Linked DNA regions of Homo sapiens: all the other regions are linked to region 1. Evidence: promoter capture Hi-C in human tissues and cell types (Jung and others, 2019). All regions are on one chromosome and are shown on one strand. The core of a region is centred on a gene start or on the middle of the fragment in contact, and the rest is flanking DNA. Distances in the headings are between cores, read along the strand shown. Region 1 holds the start of CAMK1D (calcium/calmodulin dependent protein kinase ID). Region 2 has its middle 24 kb from the start of OPTN. Region 3 overlaps CCDC3 (coiled-coil domain containing 3). Region 4 has its middle 120 kb from the start of CCDC3. Region 5 has its middle 140 kb from the start of CCDC3.

Region 1 (4,767 bases), core at 1,168-3,667:
CATCACCAGAATAGGGTACACCATGCCCATTAGTTAATTTCTCATCCCTTCCCCTACCCCACTCCAATGTCATTATTCCACACTCTCTGTCCACATATACACATTATTTAGCTCCCACTTCTTCTCCTTTTTTTTTTTTTGAGATGGAGTCTTGCTCTGTCGCCAGGCTGGAGTGCAATGGTGCAATCTTCGCTCACTGCAACCTCCTAGGTTACAGTGATTCTCCTGCCTCAGCCTCCTGAGTAGCTGGGATTACAGGCATGTGCCACCATGCCTGGCTAATTTTTATTTTTAATAGAGTTTCACCATGTTGGCCAGGCTGGTCTTGAACTCCTGACCTCAGGTGATCCACTGGCCTAGGCCTCCCAAAGTGCTGGGATTACAGGCGTGAGCCACCATGCCTAGCCTTAGCTCTCACTTCTAAGTGAGAACATGTGGTATTTGACTTTCTGTTTCTGAGTTATTTCACCTAAGATAATGGCCTTCAGTTCCAACTGCGTTGCTGCAAAAGACATGATTTCATTCTTTTTTATGGCCGGGTAGTAGAGAATCAGCACTTCTTCAGCTGTGGGGATAATAGCTGAGAATGAGAATTGTTTTCATGAGCTCTGGCGGCTGTTCCTGAGGCCAGGCAGCAAGGGCAACATAGCAGAGAACCAAATAGGAAAAGAGGAGAAGGAAACACAGTGGGAGGAAGGGAAGGAGAAAGAAAGGACAAGAAGATGCTGACTGTAGGCATGAGAAAGCGACAGTTGGGATCTTAGTTGACTTATGCCCTGGTTCCCACTGTTTGTATTATCTAACCTTTGGCACAAGTAAAATACATGATAGTTTTTCAAATGTTTCTTATTGAAGGGGATGCTGTTTGCCTTGAACTTTGGTAATGTGCCTCAAGTATAAGAGAGGTTCCTTAGTAATTCTTCTCACCCATCCGTGTTGGAAATTGGGTTTGTGGATTTATTCTACATCTAACCGGCAAGTAAATCCCCTCTTTGCTCTTCTCAGTTTGGAAAACCTTAAGCTAACCGTCTTTGAAAGATGGAAACTAGCATGGAGGTCCCAGGAATGGGGATGCCAGGGTGTCGTCTGACCTCTTTAGGGTCAGAGTAGGGGCTGAGGGAGAGCAGCTGGGCTGCCTCCACTTCAGCCAGAGTCAGAACTAGGCACAAGGTGCTGGATGAAGTTTCCTATTCAGGGAGCAGATTTTTTTTTTCCTTTTACAGTGAAATTGGAACAGTCCTGGGAAAATGGGACAGGTGTCCCCAGTCAAGAGACAGAGCTGTTTACCCAACTACGAGGAGAGGCCCTGAGGGAGGCGAAGTGTTGATACCAAGAAATCTAAAATTTTCCGATCAAGAGGTCGCCCCTGCAGGTTGGGGACCAGGGAACTGGAGCACGTGGGCTGCCCTCTGACAGGTGGACACCAGGAGTGGGGCGGGCAGGCCAAAGTACAGCTGGGAGATGGGAGTCCGGAGGGAATTCTCTGGGTTAGTTTTGGCAGTCCATAGGAAAGCAGGTGCCTGCCCCGCAACCCGGACACCCTACTAAGCCAGCCGCGGGTGGGCTCCTCCTTCGAGGGGACTGCGGGGCAGACGATCACTTCTTTCCACTGAGTCTCTGGGAGGAGACAGGGAGATGCCAGAAGGGGCCAAGCGTGAGCCAGGGCAACCAGGCCGGCCAGGCCCGCCGGCCGCTCCAGCCCAGCACCAGGGCGCCCGCGCGGCTGCCAAACACCCCCGGGAGTTTTGCTCGCAAAGGGACCACGAGGCAGCTGCTGGCGCGTCCTGCGCGTACCCGCCCAGAGGCTCCCCGGCTTGCTCCTCGCGGGTCTGTCCCGAAACTGACGTGAAACCGATTTGGTGCAATGCGAATGAGCTCCCGCCCGCCTCCGCCTCCATCCCAGCCGCCGCCGCCGCCCGTCGCCATAACAACCGGCCCCCACCCCCCCCACCCCACGCCTTGCCCCTCGGGTCCCCCGGGCCACAGGCCACAGCGCGGGAAGGCGCCCCGCCCTCGGCGCCCCGCATCCGGCCGCCGCGCACCCCCGCCCGCCCGGCGCTTCCGAGCCACGCAGAGGCGCCCCCTCCCGCCGGAGACGGGAAAGCCCCGGCGCCCCCAGACTGGGCTCCGTTTCCAGCTCCCGGAGGGGCTGGGGCTCTCCCGCGTGCGCCCCGCACCTGCCGGGGGCCCGTACCCGCCCTCGCCGGGGCTCCAGGGGGCACGACGGCCGTGGCCCGGCGCTCTTGGGAGGGGAGCGGGACATCCCCGAAGGCGGCGCGCTGGAGGCGGGGAGCGGCCGGGGCGCACGGAGAGGGCGGGGAGCCCGCGGGAGGGGGAGGAGGGGGAGGAGGGGGAGGAGGCGCGAGGTGGGGGGGAGCGCGGCGGGCGGCAGGGAGGGAGCGGGAGGGAGGCAAGAAAGTAGCAGAAAGTGAGGCTGGCAGGCGGCGGCAAAGGAGCCGGCGCGCGGCGGCGGCAGGAAGTCTGTGCCCGAGAACAGCAGAAATAAGAGCCAGGGAGGGACCGCGGCCGCGGCGGCGGCGGCGAGAGCGAAAGAGGAAACTGCAGAGGAGGAAGCTGCGCCGCAGCCCGAGCCGCCCGGCATCCCCGCCGCCTCTGCGCCCGCGCCGCGCCCCCGGCGCCCCCTCCCCAGCGCGCCCCCGGCCGCTCCTCCGCGCCGCGCTCGTCGGCCATGGCCCGGGAGAACGGCGAGAGCAGCTCCTCCTGGAAAAAGCAAGCTGAAGACATCAAGAAGATCTTCGAGTTCAAAGAGACCCTCGGAACGTAAGTGGGGACCGGGGAGGCGAGGGTGGAGGTGGCCGCGGCAGGGGCTGCACGGGCAGCTCCAGCTGCCGCCGCCGCCACTACCGCGGCAGAAACCCAGCCTGTCACCGCGTCCTCATTGTCCCGTTCTCGGCGCTGCGGAGCCCCCCCGAGCGCGCCCGACGCGTGGGCCTGCGACCCCCGGGTGGGCGCCGTTCCCGGGAGGGGGAGGGGGCAGCGCCGGGCTGTCAGGGAGCAGCCCACGCGGGCGCGCGACTTCCCACTTCTCCTGCCACCGCCGCCCTCTCCGCTGCCTTCTCCCCACGCGTGACTGTGGGCTGAGCATGGTGGGGATGGCTGTTTACCGGCTGTGTGCGTTTACTCGCCGTGTGCATGGGCGCACCGCGTTGGCGAGACGTGGTCACGAGAAGATCAGCCTCCAGTCGTTCCCATTTCTGTCCTTACATCATGTATTTCTATGGAATTGGCATCTGCACGTACGAGGTGTAGGCAAGACTTTGGGTGGCCACGCGAGGATGGAAGGGAAGGGCTTCGCAGTGCTCAGGGTCACACGTGGGCAGAGCCTCACCGGAGGGTCTGTGCATTTCACGCGGGCTCGGCCGCACGCGCCGGGGAGCGCGTCTCCAAGGGAGGGTCTGTGCGCGTCGCTGCGCGGGCGGTGCTCTCTCCGGGCTGCATCGAGTCCCATGCTGATGGCTGTGTCTCAAGAAAGCAGAAATAATCCGAAGTCGATGGCAGGAACGCTCCAAGCATGTGCTGCTCAGCTCAGCTGCTGTTCCCTTTCTGCCCAGGAGTTGGGTCTTGTTTGTTTTGTTTCGGAGCGGCTCAGAATAGGTGGGGAGGCTGATAGTGAAAGAGAATCAGGACCTGCCGAATGAGTCTGAAGTTCAAGTTATTTCCTTCCCTCACACAATCAGTATTTGCTCTGCATCAGTATCTGTCAGTGTGGATTCACGCACAGGTGTGCAGTCAGAAATGCCCATTTTGCAGGGGTTCATGGAGGTGTTGATTAGGCTGGGAAGAGAAAGGGGAGCTATTTCATGGGATAAATCAGTGCGTTGTTGGGTGCCCTTTCTTTCCTTCCTCCTTTTTTTCCGTGTGCTTGTTTTTGTGCTTGGTTTCTTTTTTCCAGCACCACATTACCCAGCTTGTCTTCACCTCCAGGCTCGGCGTCTGCTGCTGTTCAGTCATTTCCCCTCACCCCCACGCAGATCTGCAGGGGGTCCCCCGGAGAGAAGTTGTGAGGGTGGCTTTCCCAGTCCTGCTTCTGATTCCCGGGAAGGCGCACGCTGAGGACTAGAGTGGGGTCTCCCTGCTGTGGTTGTTGCCTTTCAGGGAGGGCACCTATTTGCTATCTTTGTTGGAATGAAAACAGAAAAAGATGTAGCTTTTTAATAAATAGGGGTTTGGGGTTGCCTCTTAGTGCAGCCAGGTAAGGGGTTAGTTTGGGTCAAAACTTTTGAAAATTGCCACTGAGGTTTATTCGGGTTTGGGGTTGTGATTCTGAGATGCTCAAGTTACTGAGAGACAAGAAAGCATGGCCTTTGCTTGTCATCCAGGACCCGCACTGTGGCCGCCAATGAGGAGATGGGAGAGCATGGGGACCCACCCTGTGTGAATGCTTTCCTGTCCGTGGCTTGTTCCCACCCGAGCCCCCCACACTGGCTTCCTGCCTGTAGCCTCCGGGTGACTGATGCCCTGTCCCCTGACTGACTCGTGCAGCTGCACCTCTGCAGTGGCGGGGCTGCTGAGGCTCCAAGCTGTGGCTCCTGCTGGAGCATGGTGTTTGGAGATGACTGTGGGTGGTTTCCACCTTGGGGAAAAATGGGGATTTGCCCTCTGGTGCCAGAGCGCTTCTCTGGCAGAACAGCCTCTTGGACTCCAGCCATGTTCCCTGTGAGCTTTGGGAATGGGTCTCTCTTAGGGTCCTAAAGCATTGCCTTCTGCCTGGGATGGAATTCTTTGCAAAGGAGCTTCCCACTGTAG
Region 2 (4,767 bases), core at 1-2,500, 730 kb after region 1:
ACTCTGTCACCCAGGCTGGCTCACTGCAACCTCCCCCTCCTAGGCTCAAGCAATCCTCCCACCTCAGCCTCCTGAGTAGCTAGGAGGCTACAGCTACAACTACAAGCACCTGCCACCACGTTCGGCTAATTTTTTGTAGAGACAGGGTTTCTCAATGTTGCCTAGGCTGGTCTCCAACTCGTGAGCTCAAGCAGTCCTCCCATGCCAGCTTCCCTAGGTGCTGGGATTACAGGCATGAGCCACGGTGGCCTGCCCAAGACATTTTTTTTAAATGAGAGATTTTAAAAGCTTAGCAATGAGAGAATAAACCCAACAGGTCTACCATTCCAACTCACCTTTGCTTTTTTCTTTTCTTCCCTTCCACAGTAGGAAGTATCCTCTCTCAGTACCTAAAGCTTTGATGTCACCTCCTCTAACAGGTACACCATGCAGTGTAGATCATTCCAAGTCTTTGTAAGCACTAAGTTACAGTCTCTTGAAGAATTCCATTGAACTGGTTCCAGAGTTGGTGTCTCTTTTCTAATCCTCCATTTATATGATAATCACTTGAAATTCAAGTCACCTGTTACTAGGATTGCAAGAAACAGAGGAATCAAATATATATATATATATATATATATATTTTTTTTTTTTTTTTTTTTTGAGACAGAGTTTCACCCCTGTTGCCCAGGCTGGAGTGCAATGGCGTGATCTCAGCTCACTGCAACCTCTGCCTCCCAGGTTCAAGCAATTCTCCTGCCTCAGCCTCCCGAGTAGCTGGGATTACAGGCATGCACCACCATATCCCGGCTAATTTTTTTTTTTTTTTTTTTTTTTTTTTTTTTTTTTTTTGTAGTAGAGACGGGGTTTTTCCATATTGGTCAGGCTGGTCTCGAACTCCCGACTTCAGGTGATCCGCCCACCTCGACCTCCCAAAGTGCTGGGATTACAGGCGTGAGCCACCACAACCGGCGGAATCAAATCTTTTCTTCTGGAGTTCTTTTAATGCTTTTAATCCAAGGTCCCAGCTCTCATGCTCACTTGAACTAACTCTCCCTCCCCCTCCCCCTCTCCCACTCCCTCAGCTTTTATAGATTTTTCTACAATACTTTCTCCTTACCCTTGTTAAAGCATTTGTTATCACTTCCATCCTTTACTGTTTAATCTTTCTCATAAGCACAAATACGCGTGCACACACATACACACACTCACATGAGTTCCCCGTGCCGGCTGCAAGTCTGGGTGCTGTTTTACTCAGCTATCTACGTTAGACCTGTGTTCCTGTTATTCCACAATATTACCACATTCCAGGAGGAGAAACCATTTTATTGTCTATTTCTTATTTTGATCCACATATCACATTAAAATGGAGCAAAAGAAAGGGTCTCAAACAGACAATATGAGTGCCTTCTTTAAGATGCTGGCCCTATAGAAATAGATTTCATGTTTTCCAAAGAGGACCCGGTACATCCCAGCCGCGGCCAGTCACTTGGCGCCATCTGCTGGACATGGACAAACAATCGTAGGCGGGGAACATCAGAACTGACGCATAGGTGCCCACTGCAAACCTGGCTCCCTGATGAACGAATGGTTTCCCACTGAAACGAGGCTTTACATCCCTTTATAACAAATCATCTCTCCAACTTCTTATCAATATCTCAGAAGCTAGGGAGTCTTTTCCACTATGGTTTTCCTATTTCCTCTGCTGGTGCATAAAGTGCCTTTGCTTTGTTTAACAAGCAATAAACAACTTTTTGTTTTGCGTATCACTGTATCCCCAGCATCCTGCATAGTGACTGGCACATGTAGGAGCTCCAAAATCAGTGGGTATTTTTGTTTCTTTGGCTTTTAAACGAAATAATAAGTGATTGATATCTGAGTCGGGGAAGATGACACACAGATATTCCTATTTTCATCAGACACGTTTGTTTTTTTGTTTTTTTTTTCTAGACGTCCCAGCCTGGGTAGGTGGGTAATGGTTTAGAAGCTCCTAAGGATGAACCTCTTCCCACCGCTAAAGTATTGAATCTGCTAAAAATAAGGGAAGAAACACTAATAAATAAATAAATAAACCAGGAAAAAACCCTTGTGGGGAGGGGAGACAAGAAGGAATAAAGACTTTGCATTATAGATTCTCCATGAAACCTGGCCTAGAATTGGATGAGCCTTCAATGCTCAATATACTTTTCAAAAATTGATGATTAACCAATTTGCTCAGTGCAATGGTTAATTTTATGTATCGATGTGGGTAGGCGCACGGGCATGGTGGCTCCACACCTGTAATCCCAGCACTTTCAGTGGCCAAGGTGAGCGGATCACTTGAGGTCAGGAGTTTGAGACCAGCCTGGCCAACATGGCTAAACTCTGTCTCTACTAAAAAAATAAAATAAAATAAAATAAAAATAGCCAGGCATCATGGCATGTGCCTGTAATCCCAGATATCCAAAGGCTGAGGCAGGAGAATTGCTTGAACCTGGGAGGCAGAGGTTGCAATGAGCCAAGATTGTGCCAGTGCACTCCAGCCTGGGTGACAGAGCAAGACCCTATCTTAAAACAAGCAAACAAAAAAACCTAAAATAATAGGGAAGCAGGTATCAGGGAAATAGGGAAGCAAAGGAGGCAGGTCTCGATGGCTAACTCAGTATGGGCAGAAGAGTCAAAGCTGCCTCCAAATTTCTAACTTAGCAAATGGGCAAATGTTGATGGCTGGAATTAAAACGAAAAATAGAGAGGATAAAGCAATTCAGCCAACAGTAATACATTTAGGATTGTTGTCAGAGGCATTCAAACCAGAGCAACTCCATCTTGGGTGAGGACTAGGAAAAATGAGGCTGGGACTTGCTGGGCTGCCCTCCCCGAAAGTTAGATATTCCTAGCCTCTAGATGTTTGTGGCTAAGGAAACAGATTGATAACCTTTACTAAACAGACCCAGACGTAGGAGTGTCCTGTGTAGAAAGCAAAAAGTTTCTTCCTCAAAGTTTCCCTTGTTAAAGAATAAATCATAAGTGTTAGAAGTAATAGTTCCTTTTAAAGACTAACTTCCTTCAAGCCTCCTTGCTTTGTGCTAATAACTCTTTGTTAAGCCCTATCCTATGTAGTTATTAAACATGCTCACAGGCACATAGTACATTCTATGTCCTTGTACTTTAACCAAGATATCTGTGCTGGACATGCTCACAGACATGTCCCAGCTCGCAGCCTATGCCCCTTCCTTATTTGGGAATGTTATTACTTTTCTAAGTCCTTTAGTAAGCAACTTCCTCCTTTCCCTTGTTCTCCATTGCTTTCACCTATTTAGAGAAGTTTTAAATTGTCAGCCAATCGGGTTCAGTTTATATTGTGAGGTCTGGCTCCAGCCAATGGAGACAGGACAGAGTAGCAGGGACAAGCTGCATAAGGGACAAAAATTGCTTCCCATTCCCTTTGAAAACTGGCACAAGAGAGGGATGCCCTCTCTCACCACTCCTATTACACATAGTGTTGGAAGTTCTGGCCAGGGCAATCAGGCAGGAGAAAGAAATAAAGGGTATTCAATTAGGAAAAGAGGAAGTCAAATTGTCCCTATTTGCACATGACATCATTGTATATTTAGAAAACCCCATCGTCTCAGCCCAAAATCTCCTTAAGCTGATAAGCAACTTCAGCAAAATCTCAGGATACAAAATCAAGTGCAAAAATCACAAGCATTCCTAAACACCAATAACAGACAAACAGAGAGCCAAATCATGAGTCAACTCCCATTCACAATTGCTTCAAATAGAATAAAATACCTAGGAATCCAACTTACAAGGGACGTGAAGGACCTCTTCAAGGAGAACTACAAACCACTGCTGAACGAAATAAAAGAGGACACAAACAAATGGAAGAACATTCCATGCTCATGGATAGGAAGAATCAATATCGTGAAAATGGCCATACTGCCCAAGGTAATTTATAGATTCAATGCCATCCCCATTAAGCTACCAATGACTTTCTTCACAGAATTGGAAAAAACTACTTTAAAGTTCATATGGAACCAAAAAAGAGCTGCATTGCCAAGACAATCCTAAGCCAAAAGAACAAAGCTGGAGGCATCACGCTACCTGACTTCAAACTATACTACAAGGCTACAGTAACCAAAACAGCACAGTACTGGTACCAAAACAGAGATATAGACCAATGGAACACAACAGAGCCCTCAGAAATGATACCACACATCTACAATCATCTGATCTTTGACAAACCTGACAAAAACAAGCAATGGGGAAAGGATTCCCTATTTAATAAATGGTGCTGGGAAAACTGGCTAGCCATATGTAGAAAGCTGAAACTGGATCCCTTCCTTACACCTTGTACAAAAATAAATTCAAAATGGATTAAATACTTAAATGTTAGACCTAAAACCATAAAAACCCTAGAAGAAAACCTAGGCAATACCATTCAGGACATAGGCATGGGCAAGGACTTCATGACTAAAACACCAAAAGCAATGGCAACAAAAGCTGAAATAGACAAATGGGATCTAATTAAACTAAAGAGCTTCTGCACAGCAAAAGAAATTACCATCAGAGTGAACAGGCAACCTACAGAATGGAAGAAAATTTTTACAATCTACCCATCTGACAAAGGGTTAATATCCAGAATCTACAAAGAACTTAAACAAATTTATAAGAAAAAAGCAAACAACCCCATCAAAAAGTGGGCAAAGGATATGAACAGACACTTCTCAAAAGAAGACATTTATGCAGCCAAAAAACACATGAAAAAATGCTCATCATCACTGGCCATCAGAGAAATGCAAATCAAAA
Region 3 (4,767 bases), core at 641-3,140, 620 kb after region 1:
GATTGTTAGATTTTTGAGTGTACGTAAGAGAGATGTCACTCACAGTGTCACAAGACACATAGAAAGGCAAATATATCTTTTCTTAAACACTAATTTTTTGCTGTAACAGTACATCTTTAAAAACCAAGTGATTAGCCATGACATTCAAAGTATAAACAATTTGTCATTCGTTGTTAATGCTTCTTTTCTCATGTAATCATGAGTCATTAACTTTTGGATGCCGGCAGTTTGGAATTTTCTGTCTATAAGGAGACATCATGCAAGACAGAATGCCAAGTTGGCTCAGCCCTAAAGAGAAGGCTTCGTGACATACACACGTTGTAAATGGCACATGGAGAAGGTGTCTGCACCAAAGTATGTAGAGAATAGGATTCAGAACACAGTTCACATTGGATGATAAATCATTGAGTCTTGTGAAAGTGAATAAGGAGTTCATTTTTGATGACCACAAATCATTAAGTTTCTCCAGCACAGAGTGAATCCACCATCCCAGGCATTTTCTTAGGTCCCCTTTGCAAGCCTTTCACGAGATGTTCCCAAGGCTGGGCCTCACTCTATCACCGTCTGTGGGCAATAAGCCCCTGGCAGTAGCGTAAATAGGCTGTGCTGAAGTCAAAGCCCACAAACTCAGTTTCTCGTTTCTCAACCTTACTCAGTTACCAGCCTTACTCATATTACTATATGGTACTCAGTTACCAGCCTTACTCATATTACTATATGGTACTCAGTTACCAGCCTTACTCATATTACTATATGAGCAAGGTTGAGAAACTAGAAACTGAGGGGCTGTGGGCTTTAAATTCAGCACAGCCTATTTACGCTACTATCTATAGGAGGAATCTCCCTTCCCCAGCCTGCTAGTTTTTGTGTAATGAGTCTTGCATTACAAGCATGCTCCTGGCTTCTCCCCAGACCCTCACACCCCTCCGGGAACAGGCAGGGACTCTGATTCCTGTACTTGCAAACAGGAACAAAGCATGCCTAGCTCTCCCCTTTTCCTCTTGGGAGCCAGCTGGCCACAGGGAGTTCCCAGTCCAGTCTGCTTCTTATCGAAGCAGAAAATTTTAGAGCATCAGACACGCCCCAGACATGGGCTACGGTTTTCCAAAGCGACCTGTGCCTCCTAAGTCCATCTAACCCTGAGGTTGGGAATCATCCCTCTTGCCTACAGATACAAGCCACACTGTATCATCTTCATCAGTTAAGAAAGGAAATCTTTGACTCAGTTAAGTCAGAAAGTGGGTGAGGAAACCAGTATTTATTGGGCGCCTTCAAATTCCAACGTGTTCTAAAATGAAGAGGTTTAACCATACCTTACTTTGTATAGCACTTGACAATGTTCAAAACAGTTTCCCGTATCTTATCTCTTTGGGTCTCCTCAACAAACCTGGGAGGAAGGCAGGGTGTGGAAATGGAAACCCAGCTATTTTAAACGAACTGTCCAGGGTAACAGCCTGTATCATCTTCCAGATCTCTTTTGCTGGAGTCCCTTCATCTTCTGGGCTTCCTCCAGCTTTCTAAGGAGTTGAACAAGCTGAGCGATTTACCCAGGGTGAGGCAGCTGTGAAACCATGCCCCTCTCCACCTTCTCCCATAAATCAGTTTTGACTTTTTAAAGGCTGGTTCCATATGCAATGTATTGACTTTTGTGCCATTCCATAAACAGCATAGGTCTTCCTATAGTGAAATGAACCCAGAACAGCTCCAAGAGGTGACTTCTCCACCAAATGAACAGACATCAGCATAAGGTAATGAGGAAACAAATAATATATCATATTCTTTTGGTGGTGTTATAATCTCCCAGTAACTAACCACAAAGAAATTAAGATATGTGAACTGCCTAAGAATTCAAAATAATTATTTTATGTTCAATGAACCTCAAAAAATCAGAGAAATATCCCAATGAGTCAGGAAAATAATAAATAATCAACATTAGAAATTTAATAGATATTACAATTATTTTTAAAAAATCAAATTCTGGAGCTGAAAAATACAATTAATAAAAAGTTCAATAGAAAATATCAACAGCAAAATTGATCAAGGAGAAAAAAAGTCTGTGAACTCAAAGACAGGTTATTTGAAAATATGCAGCCAGCAAAGAAAGGAAAAAAGTGAAAAGGGATGAAGAAAGCTTCAGGATTTATGGGACAACATCAAAAGAACAAAAATACTTGAGTTACAGGAATTAAGGGAAAAAAACATAGGGGCAAAGGGGTAGGCAAGCTTAAACAATAGCAGAAAACATGCCAATTCTAGGGAAAGACACAAATATCCAGGTAAAAGAAAGTCAAAGTTCTCTAATCAGATTCAATCCAAACAAGACTATCCCAAGACATATTATCATCACACTGTCAAGTATAAAGACAGGTCGGGCATGGTGGCTCATGCCTATAATCCCAGCGCTTTGGGAGGCCGAGGCGGGCAGATCACAAGGTCAGGAGTTCGAGACCAGCCTGACCAACATGGTGAAACCCAGTCCCTACTAAAAATACAAAAATTAGCCAGGTGTGGTGGCGTGTGCCTGTAATCCCAGCTACTCTGGAGGCTGAGGCAGGAGAATCATTTGAAGCTGGAAGGCAGAGTTTGCAGGCAGCCAAGATCACACCACTGTACTCCAGCCTGGGTGAAAGAGCGAGACTTCACCTCAGAAAAAAAAAAGAAAATACAAACACACACACATACACACACACACACACACACACAGAGTATCCTAAAAGGAACAAGAGAAAACAGGAAAACAATATATAAAGAAGTTCCAATAAGGCTAGTGGCAGATTTCTCAGTAGAAACCTAAGCCGTGAAAAAGTGGGATGATATATTCAAAGTATTGCAGGAAAAAACTTGTCAACCAAGAACACTGTACCTAGCAAGGCTGTACTTCAGAAATGGAGAGAAAGACTTTTCCCAACAAACAAAAGCTTAGTAAGTTCATCACCAACAGACCTGTCTTACAAGAAAGGTTAAAGAGAGTTCTTCAAGCTGAAAGAAGATGCTAATGGGTAACAGGAAAATACATCAAAGTATAAAACTCATTTGTAAAAGTAAGTAGTCAAATTCAGAACAGTCTAATATTATAATGGTGGTATGTAAGTAACATTTATCTTTAGTATGAAGGTTAAAAGATGAAACTATTTAAAATAATAGCTATAATTTTTTAAGGGATATACAAGATGTAAACTGTGACATCAAAAACACAAAATGGGGAGGTGGATTAAAAGTATGGAGTATTATCATGCAATCAAGGTTAAGTTATTTACAGCTTAAAATAAATAGCCCATTACAGTATCTTTTATGTAAGCCTCAAGGTAATCACAAAGCAAAAATCTATAGTAGATACACCAAAGATAGAAAGTAAGGAATCAAAGCAAACTATGAGAGAAAATCATCTAATCATAAAGAAGACAGCAAGAGAGGAAGAAAGGAACAAAGGAACAAGCAAAAAACAATTAACAAAATGGCAATAGTACATCCTTACCTATCAATAATTATCTTGAGTGTAAACAGATTAAAATCTCCTATAAAAGACAAACTACACACCTGATAAGAAGTTAATATTCAAAACATACAGGGAACTGAAACTACTCAATAGCATGTAAACAAGTCAATTAAAAAATGGGCAAAGGACCCAAATAGACATTTCTCTAAAGACGACATACAAATGGCCCAAAGGTAAATAAGAAAATGCTCAACATCACGAATCATCAGGGAAAAGGAGATTAAAACCATAATGAACTGTCATCTCACACCTGTTAGAATGACTATAATAAAAAAGACAAGCAATAAATGATGATGAGGATGTGGAGAAAAGAGAACCTTTGTAACAGTTGGTGGGAATGTAAATTAGTACACCACTATAGAAAACAGTATGGAGTTTCCTCAAAAAATTAAAAATAGATTGGAAATTATGTTCAATTATGGTAAATATATAACAACACACACCCACAAATTAAAAATAGAATTACCCAAGGTAATTTAGTACATAAGATTCAGAAGCTTACGTACCCAGTAGTAAACCGACTACTGGGTACATATCCAAAGGATATGATAACAGTATGAAAAAGAAGCCAACCTAAGTGTTTATTGACAGATGAATGGATAAAAAAAGTTTTTTTATATAATATATATGGTAGGATATTATTCATTCTTAAAAAAATTTTAGAAATTTTTTAATATTTTAAAAAATATTTTAATAATTTTAATATTTAATATTCTAATATTTTTAAAAAATATTTTTAAGATATTCATTCTTAAAAAAAAAAGAGGAAATCCTGTCATTTGTGACAACATGGATGAACCTGGAGGAAATTATGTTAAGTGAACTAAACCAGTCACAGAAAAGCAAAATACCATGTGACCTCAGTTATATGTGGAGTATAAAAAAGTCAAACTCATAGAAACAGAGGATAAGACAGAAAAATAAAATACTTCAAAGGGACTCAGTGTATGCCTATTTAATGAAGCCATTTTAATTTAAAACAGGATAGCCTGCAATGCCTTATCTCAAGTTAAATTAGCTTCTTGATGTATTTTGGTAGTGTTTTTTCTAATGTATGGGTTTTTAGGGTTTTTTCATCAATGGTGGTCTCCAAGATGGTAATTTAAAAGTTACAGGAAGGGGTGAGTCACAGCTTTTCCTGGCAAAGGCTGAAGGATGAGGGGTGAGGGGAGATGTTGGTCACAGACGCAAAATTTCAGTTACACCGGAGGAATGAGTTTACAAAATCTACTGCATATCGCGGCAACTACAGTCAATAACACTATTATGGT
Region 4 (4,767 bases), core at 1,165-3,664, 540 kb after region 1:
CCAGCATGTTGATCTGGACTTCCAGCCTCCAGGACTGTGAGAAAATGAATTTCTGTTGTTGAAGCCACTCGGTCTGTGGTATTTTGTAATAGCAGCCCAAGTAGACTCATACAATGGTGAATACCATTCTAAGCACTTTAGAGACATCAACTATTCTAATGTATAACTACGACGAAGATATTATCACCTGTATATTACAAACGAGAAGCCAAAAGCTTAGAGAGGCCATATGCCTTAGGGGTGAAAAGTTGTTCAAGTAATACACAAAAAATATGAGCACCAGCAGAAGGAGATCAGGAGTTGCCCAGTGCCAAGGATGACAGAGATTGAATGCAAAGGGGAACAAGGAAAGTTTTGGGGTGGTGGAAATATTCTGTATCTCATTTTATATCTTGGTGGTGTCACATGGGTGTATATATTTGTCAAAACTTACTGAGCTAGGCAGTTAAAATGGTTATATTTTATTGTATGTAATTTATGACCCAAAGATGATTGAAAATTAAAAAAAAGTGGTCGCAGCCAAAAAGAAAGATAGGAACTAGAGTTAGAACATTTGTGTCTGAACTGAATTCCAGCTCCACCACGTATTATTTATGTGCTTTTGATCAAGTTACTTAATCTCTCTGGGTCTCTCAGCCTTCAGTTCTTCATCTCTTAAATGGTAGTAATGTTTTCTCAATATATATTTTAAGACTGTTATGAAAGTATTTCATACTGTCTTTTATTCATGTATGCATTCATCCAACAAGCATATAATGAGCACATTCTGTGAGTCAGGCACTGTTGTTGGTAGGCAGGGCAGATGCACCATTCTGGGAAGTAGAGCAGGAAACCAAACAGAAGGGGGACAGGAGGCCAAGGTGGAGGAATTGCTTGAGGCTAGGAGTTCGAGACCAGCCTGGGCAACAAAGTGAGACCCTGTCTCTATTAACACACACACACACACACACACACACACACACACACACACGTTTGTATGTATATACATAAAACAGACAGGGACTCTGTGCCCATGGAACTAATTTTCTTTTTTCTAAAGAAGGGATTTATTAGCTTTTTTTTTTCTTTTAAAAAAAACAACTTTTATTTTAGGTTCAGGGGTACATGTGTAGGTTTGTTATATTGGTAAACTCTTGCCACAAGGGTTTGTTGAACATATTATTTCATCCCCCAGGTACTAAGCCTTGTACCCAATAGTTATTTTTTCTATTTCTCTCCCTCCTCCTACTTCCACCCTTTGGTAGGCCCCTGTCCCTATTGTTCCCCTCTGTGTATCCATGTGTTTTCATTATTTAGCTTCTACTTATAAGTGAGAATATGCAGTATTGGGTTTTCTGTTTCTGTGTTAGTTTGCTAAAGATAATGGCCTCCAGCTGCACCCATGTTCCTGCAAAGGACATGATATAGTTCTTTTTATGGCTGCATAGTATTCCATGGAACTAATTTTCTAAAAAAGGAGAGGAAAGGCCATAGACAAGTAAAACAACAAGTGCAGGTAGAAATACATGCTATGAATGAAATTAAACAAAGTAATGTCATTACCTAGGGAATATATTGGAGAGAATGCACAGGGAAAGGCTTCCTGAACCTTCAGGGGTGTCTGAACCAAGTTTTAAAGAAGGAAGAGGAGATCGTGCAACGATCTGAAGGAATGGGTCTCCAGGCAGAAGGAATAAGAAGTGCAAAGGCTGGAATGAGCTTGGGCAGTCAAGGAATAGAAAGTCCGGTATGACTGGAGAGGAGTGAGCCAGGCTGAGGGTTAAGGAACAGGAAGAATAGCTCAAAGTGGGTTTGTGGCGAGCCTGGATCAAAGGCTATGTTGTGGAAAATTATTCATGGTGGGGACAACGGTGGAAGCCAGCAAATTTGTAGGATGTCATGACACTAGCACAGGCACCGGGGGCTTGGACCAGGCTGGTGGTCTTAGAGAAGGAGCAAAGCGCGTGGACTCTGGATACACGCTGGCGATTGGGTCAACAGGGCAGGCTGCTGTATTGAGGGAGGGGAATGAGAAAGTAAAGACTCAAGAATGGCTCTGAGTGATTTTAACTTCTGCAGCTGGGTAGATGTTGGTGCCCTCTGCCGAGGGAAGGAAGTGTGAAGCAGGAAGCCTGGAGCTCTGGTTTTGACTTGCTAAATTAGACATGCCTGTTAGACAACCATGTGGAGATGGCAGGTCTGCAACTGGATATGAATCTGGAGCTCAGAGGCAAGGTCAAGGCTAAAGATGTAAGGAAATGCCCAGAGCAACGTACAGCGTTTTGTTGTTACCTCTCCTTGCATTCACTGCAGGAATGACCACTTCCTCCTGTCACCTTCTAAAGTATATTTCATTCTCCCTAGATGCCTACAGGGGTGGGGGCAAGGGAGTGGGAGCTCAAGTGTGAGGGCAGGAAAGGGAGGCGAGCACAGAGATGGTCCTCATGGTTCTCAGTAGACATGAGACACGATAGCCAGTCACTGCACTCCAGTGAGTAGTCCGTTTCCTGAGGGATCATATATATTTGCAGGCTCCCTGTAAGGAGACAAGGTCCAGCTCTGTCACCCAGGCTCAAGCACAATGGGGCAATCATGACTCACTGCAGTCTTGACCTTCTGGACTCAAGCGATTCCCCTGCCTCAGCCTCCCAAGTAGCTGGGACCGAGTCACGTGGTGCATGCCACCATGCCTGGCTAATTTTTGTATTTTTTGAATAATCAGGGTCTTGCTATGTTGCCCAGGCTGGTCCTGACCTCCTGGGCTCAAGCAATCTGCCCACCATGGCCTCTCAAAGTGCTGGGATTACAGGTATGAGCCACCACGCCTGGCCAGTCCTTCTCATTTTAAAGACTACCTTCTGGCTGGGCATGCTGGCTCATGCCTGTAATCCCAGCATTTTGGGAGGCCAAGGCAGGCGGATCACTTGAGATCAAGAGATTGAGACCATCCTGACCAACATGGTGAAACCCCGTCTCTACTAAAAATATAAAAAATTGGCCTGGCACGGTGGCTCACACCTGTAATCCCAGCACTTTGGGAGGCCGAGGTGGGCAGATCACGAGGTCAGGAGTTTGAGACCAGCCTGGACAACATGGTGAAACCCCGTCGCTACTAAAAATACAAAAATTAACTGGGCATGGTGGCAGGTGCCTGTAATCCCAGCTACTCAGGAGGCTGAGGCAGGAGAATCACTTGAAATCAGAAGGCAGAGGTTACAGTGAGCTGAGATGGTGCTATTGCACTCCAGCCTGGGCAACAGAGCAAGACTCCATCTCAAAAAAATAAATTAATTAATTTAAAAAACCCAAAAATTAGCCAGGTGTGGTGGGGTGCACCTGTAGTCCCAGCTACTTGGGAGGCTGAGGCAGGAGGATCACTTGAACCTGGGAGGCGGAGGTTGCAGCGAGCTGAGATTGCACCGTCCCGCTCCGGCCTGGCGACAGAGTGAGACTCCATCTCAAAAAGCAAGCAAACAAACAAACAAAACAAAAAGACTACTTTCTAAGAAGCACTTTCTCGACCATCCTATCTAAAATGGGTCTTCTCCCTTAGCTTCCACTCCCATGGCAGCATTTCTTCAGCCAGCACAATGTTGGTTTCACTGAAAGCAGTCGTTTGTAATGATAATGACTAGTACTAGTTCAAGTTCATTGTCTCTCTCCACCATTGGAGAGAGAGTTTGACTCTATGTTGGAAGGAGGTGTGCCTGTTGTGGCGATCCTTGTCAGCCAGAGCTAGCACAGTGCCTGGCACACCCTAGGTGCTCAATAAATATCTGTTGAAGAACTTAATGAGCTATCTCTGAGATATCATGGTTCAGAGTGGATTAATTGAAGCTCCAAGCATGGGCTGAGGCAGCCTTATTCCAGATCAAGCCCTTAGCCCAAGGCCAGAAATGGGTTTTTAAAGATGGCATAGGGAGCAATTATCAGGGAGTGTGGAGGCAAACAACATGGCAAATTTCCAAGCCCTGCCAGCCACTGGGCACCGTTTGCATTCATCACTGAGCACCATGGCATATGCAAGCTTGTTAGCAGGATCATGGGCCAGAGATGGATGGATCCACTCCAGCCTCCTGCTAAGCTCCTGAAACAAAAGATTTTTCTAAGTGTTTTGAGTTGTTCTCATGAGATGTCATGGCCAGCAAGCTGGAAAACTGTGTGGCTCTTTGCCAGTTGCCTGGTTTTAAATCTGGTCTTCCATGGAAAATGAAATTGAGAAAGAATTTAAGATTTCTAATTGGGATCTGTCCCCTGGAGGGGAGATGGCTATTTTTATGTTCCAACCCAACACACTGGAGAGATCTGGGAATGCAGCCTGTATCCAACTTCTTGTTTTTTTTAAGACTGAGTCTCTGTTGCCCAGGCTGGAGTGCAGTGGCATAATCTCGGCTCACTGCAACCTCCGCCTCCCGGGTTCAAGCGATTCTCATGCCTCAACGTCCCAAGTAGCTGGGATTACAGGCATGCTTTACCACACCCAGCTAGTTTTTGTATTTTTAGTACAGATGGGGTTTCTCCATGTTGGCCAGGCTGGTCTCAAACTCCTGACCTCAAGTGATTCACCAGCCTCGGCCTCCCAAAGTGCTGGGATTACAGGCATGAGCCACTGCGAGAGAGACTGGAATGAGAAGCTAAGCACTAGCTGTCCTCCAAAGAGGAAGCCAGAAGCATCATCCAGGTCTCAGCTTCTCAGCAAGGTTTATCCTCCAAATCTATTCAGAGATAGGAAGAAGGGAGTCAGTGGGTCCAGATAAGAAAGTAGGGCTGGGCATGGTGGCTCACACC
Region 5 (4,767 bases), core at 1,151-3,650, 510 kb after region 1:
AGGAAAGCTGAAATGAACAAAGATTGACATCATATAACCCTGGCTTAAGGTCGCCAAATTTTGAGAATGTAGACTCACATAAATAAGTAGATTTATATACATAACAAGTAATTTTTTCACTGCTTCACAAGTTATTACAGGTAATTACTAAGGAAAGCTGACCAGAATACTGCCAGAGTTGCTACAGAATAACATTTGGGGCCACCTTGGTTGGAAATATACGGAGGCAGTTGAGTTGAACGGTAGACTGAGAAACTTCTCATCCACTATCTCTTTTATCATCTTGCAAAGTATTCACCAAGAACATTTGCTATGAGAAAAGTGACTAGATAGCATCCTTAATTTTACCAACAAGGTAATGATTTTTTATTACACATCGAACAACGAAGAATGTCAGACCCTTCAGATTTCTCACGACCAATTCTCCTTCTCAACTGTCAAGACTTTTTCATTGCAGGGATCTTGTCATGTTTAGTGTTTTTAAGATACAGTTTTCCCTTAAAATTGTTGACAGCATGAAGCTGTGAAAACATATCTGCTTCAATAAGCCAATTTTGTGAGTCATATTTTTAAAAAATATGTTGTTAAATTTAACCAGTGATGTGTTGTTAGACCCACTCTCCAGAAAGAAAAAAGAAAAAACAGAAAGTCCTGATTTGTTGTGTTTGCCAATTTCTGTGGTGTAAATCCTCCCACTGTGGCTGATTTCAAGCGACAAAGTAGTGTAACTAAATGCAGAGTTGGGAGGAGACGTGCATGGTTGATTCTCACAAGTTGGTATGAGCCAGGAAGAGCAGGATTCAGGACACCATGGATTTTAGCCACACACGAAAAGATGCATGCAGTCTATGTGTGAGGTCTAACAAATATGTAAAAGAGAACACCCATGTTACTCCACCAAAGTCAAGAAACAGAGCATCACCTGCACCCCAGCAGTCCACCGCATGCCCCTTATAATCTTCTTCCCTGTTAGTTAGCCACTTTTGTCACTTTTCTGCTATTGTTTTTACACCTTTTTTTCTTTTTTATCACATAAGTGTGCATCCCTAAATGTTCTGATTTAATTTCACCTGTCTTGAACTTTATATAAATGAAATTGGCCAGGCGTGTTGGCTCACACCTGTAATCCCAGCACTTTGGGAGGCCGAGGCGGGTGGATCACCTGAGGGCAGGAGTTCTAGACCAGCCTGGTCAATATGGTGAAACCCCGTTGCTACTAAAAATAGAAAAATTAGCTGGATGTGGTGGTGGATGCCTGTAATCTCAGCTACTCAGGAGGCTGAGTCAGGAGAATCGCTTGAATCTGGCAGGCAGAGGTTGCAGTGAGCCGAGATTGTGCCATTGCACTCCAGCCTGGGCAACAAGAGCAAAACTCCATCTCAAAAAAAAAAAAAAAAAAGAAATCATACTCTAAGTATAAGTATTCTTTTTGGCGATTTTTTTTTTTTTTGAGACAAGATCTCACTGTGTCACCCAGGTTAGAGTACAGTGGCATGACCTTGGCTCACTGCAACCTCTTCCTCCTGGGCTCAAGCCATCCTCCCACCTCAGCCTCCCCAGTAGCTGGGACCACAGGCATGCACCACCATATCTGGCTAATTTTTGTATTTTTAGTGGAGATGGAGTTTCACCATGTTGCCCAGACTAGTTTCAAACTCCTGAGCTCAAGCAATGTACCCACCTTGGCCTTCCAAAGTGCTGAGATTATAGGCATGAGCCACTGCACCCAGCCTCTTTTGTGTTTTATTTTGCTCAACATTATATTTGTAAGATTTATCCATGCTGTTGCATCTAGCTATAGTTCATTTTTTTTTTCTTTTTTTGTTTTGAGACAGGGTCTAACTCTGTTGCCCAGGTTGGAGTTCAGTGACACAATCATGGTTCACTGTGGCCTCGGCCTCCTCAGCTCAAGCAGTCCTCCTGCCTCAGCCTCCCAAATAACTGGGACTACAGGCACATGCCACCACATACAGCTAATGTTTTTGTATCTTTTGTAGAGATGGGATTTTGCCATGTTGCCCAGGTTGGTCTTCAACTCTTGGGCTCAAGTGATCTGCCTGCCTTGATCTCTCAAAGTGCTGGGATTACAGGTATGAGCTGCTGCGCCTGGCCTAGCTCATTCATTTTTATTGCTACACAGTATTACAACATAAAAATATCCTCAGGGATGTGCTGGAGGCAGCTTATACAGACTCATGAGCATTGATTGTTAAATGTTCACAAATTTTGTAAGCTAGTTAATGTCATGTTGGGAGCTTGAAATTAGCCATGATGAGTATATTTGCACCATGGAAATTAGCAAATGCTACAAATCGGGGCTTTTTCTCCCTGTTGTTAAACATCTGCCAGCATGCCATTGAATATACAATAATGTATTTATCCATCCTACAGTAAATGGGCATTTGGTTTGTTTCCAGTTTTTGACTCTGAATATTCTCTTCCATGTATACTGGTAAACGTGTGCTCACATTTTTAGAGGAGAGAATATAGCACAGAAGTGAAATTGTTAGGTTATATGGTATGCCGTGTTCAATTTTAGTTGATAATGTCAAAGAATTTTCCAAAGTGTTGGTACCAATTTACATAGAATCCTGGTTTTGTTTGCGAATTCTTATTACTCCTGTTATTCCTATTAAACCCATGATATTGCTGGAGTTTCAAACTTGTGCCAAACAAATGGTTGTATACTTAGATATGATTATGGCTTTAAGATGCATTTTCCTAATTTTTTTTTTTTTTTTGAGATGGAGTCTCCCTCTGTCTCCCAGGCCAGAGTACAGTGGCATGATCTTGGCTCACTGCAACCTCCACCTCTCAGGTTCAAGCGATTCTCCTGCCTCAGCCTCCCGAGTAGCTGGGATTACAGGCGTGCGTTACCACACCCAGCTAAGTTTTGTATTTTTAGTAGAGACGGGGGTTTCACCATGTTGGCCAGGCTGGTCTCAAACTCCTGACCTCAGGTGATCTGCCCGCCTCGACCTCCCAAAGTGCTGGGATTACAGGCGTGAGCCACCGTGCCCGGCCGCATTTTCCTAATTTCTGATGAGGTTGAGCACCTTTCCTTATGTTGTTTGGCTCATTTGAATTTTTTCTTGTGTAAAGTACTTGTTCAAGTTTTGCTGAATTTTTTACTGTATTTTTCTTATTGGTTTTTCAGAGTTCTTTTTATATTCCAGATATTCTAATATAAGTCTGCTGTTATACATTTCCCTCTATTTCTTTTTATCCCTTTCCTGAACAAAAAATATGGTCTATGGTTAATGTGGGTACAATTGTACAGACTCTAGGTTTATTTTGATCTTGTGTGTATGATTTTTTGCTTGGCCCCATTTCACCTTCTCTGGAACCACTTTGTTTCTCTGATCTAGAGTTACAATTTTAAGATGAAGTGTAGAGATTCCTCCATTTCTCTGAGACTCAAAGGGTCACGGAGAAGAGGGGATATTCGGCTTGGATTATGCATGGAGTCCTGTGCTCCACTCTTTGTCCTGGCTCAGATTCATTCATTCATTTATTGAGACAGAGTATTGCTTTGTCACCAAGGCTGGAGTGCAATGGCGCAATCTCAGCTCACTGCAACCTCCGCCTGCTGGGTTCAAGTGAGTCTCCTGCCTCAGCCTCCTGAGTAGCTGGGATTACAGGCACGTGCCACCACGCCTGGCTCATTTTTCTATTTTTAGTAGAGACAGGGTTTCACCATGTTGGTCAGGCTGGTCTCAAACTCCTGACGTCATGATCTGCCCAACTCAGCCTCCCAAAGTGCTGGGATTACAGACATGAGTCACAGTGCCCGGCCGGCTCAGATACTTTTAAATGCCCTAGGCCTACTTTCTCTAGCCAGTCTACTTCATTCTACTGGATTCTGGAAACTTTCTGAAAACCCAGCACAATGTCCTGGAAGACAGCAATCCTTATTGCACTTTCTGCAGATGGCTCATGGCAGGGTAATGGTAAAAGGAAAGAAGCAAGAGATTGTCATATGATCAAAAGACACACCTCTCCCCTAAAGCTTTCATTTATTAATGAAATGACACCACATAGTACTTATAGGAGAGGTTGCTCTTCGTCTGAGACTCCTGAAAGGTATTCTTGTCTGTAGAAACACATAAAATGAACAAAACAGGAAGACAGTATCTATTTAAAGCTTCTATAAAAAGAAAACAGAGACCAGGCATGGGGGCTCATGCAGATAATCCCAGCACTTTGGGAGACTGAGGTGGGTGGATCGCCTGAGGTCAGGAGTTCAAGAGCAGCCTGGCCAACATGGTGAAACCCCATCTCTACTAAAAATATGAAAATTAGCCTGGCATGGTGGTGGGTGCCTGTAATCTCAGCTACTTGGGAGGCTGAGGCAGGAGAATCGCTTGAACCCGGGAGGTGGAGGTTGCAGTGAACCGAGTTCGCGCCATTGCACTCCAGCCTGGGCAATAGAACAAGATTCTGTCTCAAAAAAAAAAGAAAGAAAGAAAAAAGAAAAAGCCACTCTCATTTATTGCTAGTAGAAATCCAAAATGCACAGTTGCTATGGTGTGGAATTTGGCAATATCTAGCAAGAGTACACGTAGACTGCCCTTGACCCAGCAATTCCACCTCCCAAACAAAGTTCATGCCAGGACTTTTGCATAAGGCAGCACTGTTTGTTGAAAGACTGGAAACAACCGCCGGGCATGGTGGTTCACGCCTGTAATCCCAGCACTTTGGGAGGACAAGGCAGGTGGATCACGAGGTCAGGAGATCGAGACCATCCTGGCTAACACAGTGAAACCT

The links. Contacts are between HindIII fragments. The study calls those that stand out against the background at their distance.
Region 2: a fragment that was not itself captured here is called in contact with the fragment with the promoter of CAMK1D in region 1 in 2 of the 25 tissues and cell types used here (bladder and mesenchymal stem cells).
Region 3: a contact is called between a fragment that was not itself captured here and the fragment with the promoter of CAMK1D in region 1, in 2 of the 25 tissues and cell types used here (dorsolateral prefrontal cortex and mesenchymal stem cells).
Region 4: a contact is called between a fragment that was not itself captured here and the fragment with the promoter of CAMK1D in region 1, in 1 of the 25 tissues and cell types used here (hippocampus).
Region 5: a contact is called between a fragment that was not itself captured here and the fragment with the promoter of CAMK1D in region 1, in 1 of the 25 tissues and cell types used here (aorta).

Annotation. Positions count from the first base shown.
Region 1 is chr10:12,347,130-12,351,896 of GRCh38, forward strand. It overlaps CAMK1D (calcium/calmodulin dependent protein kinase ID), which reads left to right and starts at 2,418. Exons shown (of 11, transcript NM_153498.4): 1 at 2,418-2,781. The coding sequence starts at 2,690. RefSeq lists silencers at 1,577-1,836, 1,877-2,436, 2,607-2,696 and enhancers at 2,733-3,232, 3,407-3,566. The HindIII fragment of the contact is 17,086 bases long and covers 1-4,767 here.
Region 2 is chr10:13,073,533-13,078,299 of GRCh38, forward strand. It overlaps a transcript of CCDC3 not described here. Among named protein-coding and RNA genes, the nearest start is that of OPTN, 24 kb to the right of the region's middle. The HindIII fragment of the contact is 7,650 bases long and covers 1-4,767 here.
Region 3 is chr10:12,965,523-12,970,289 of GRCh38, forward strand. The region is part of intron 2 of CCDC3 (coiled-coil domain containing 3); the gene reads right to left. Among named protein-coding and RNA genes, the nearest start is that of CCDC3, 34 kb to the right of the region's middle. The HindIII fragment of the contact is 3,130 bases long and covers 326-3,455 here.
Region 4 is chr10:12,882,487-12,887,253 of GRCh38, forward strand. No RefSeq gene overlaps it. Among named protein-coding and RNA genes, the nearest start is that of CCDC3, 120 kb to the right of the region's middle. The HindIII fragment of the contact is 4,978 bases long and covers 1-4,767 here.
Region 5 is chr10:12,861,952-12,866,718 of GRCh38, forward strand. No RefSeq gene overlaps it. Among named protein-coding and RNA genes, the nearest start is that of CCDC3, 140 kb to the right of the region's middle. The HindIII fragment of the contact is 3,351 bases long and covers 726-4,076 here.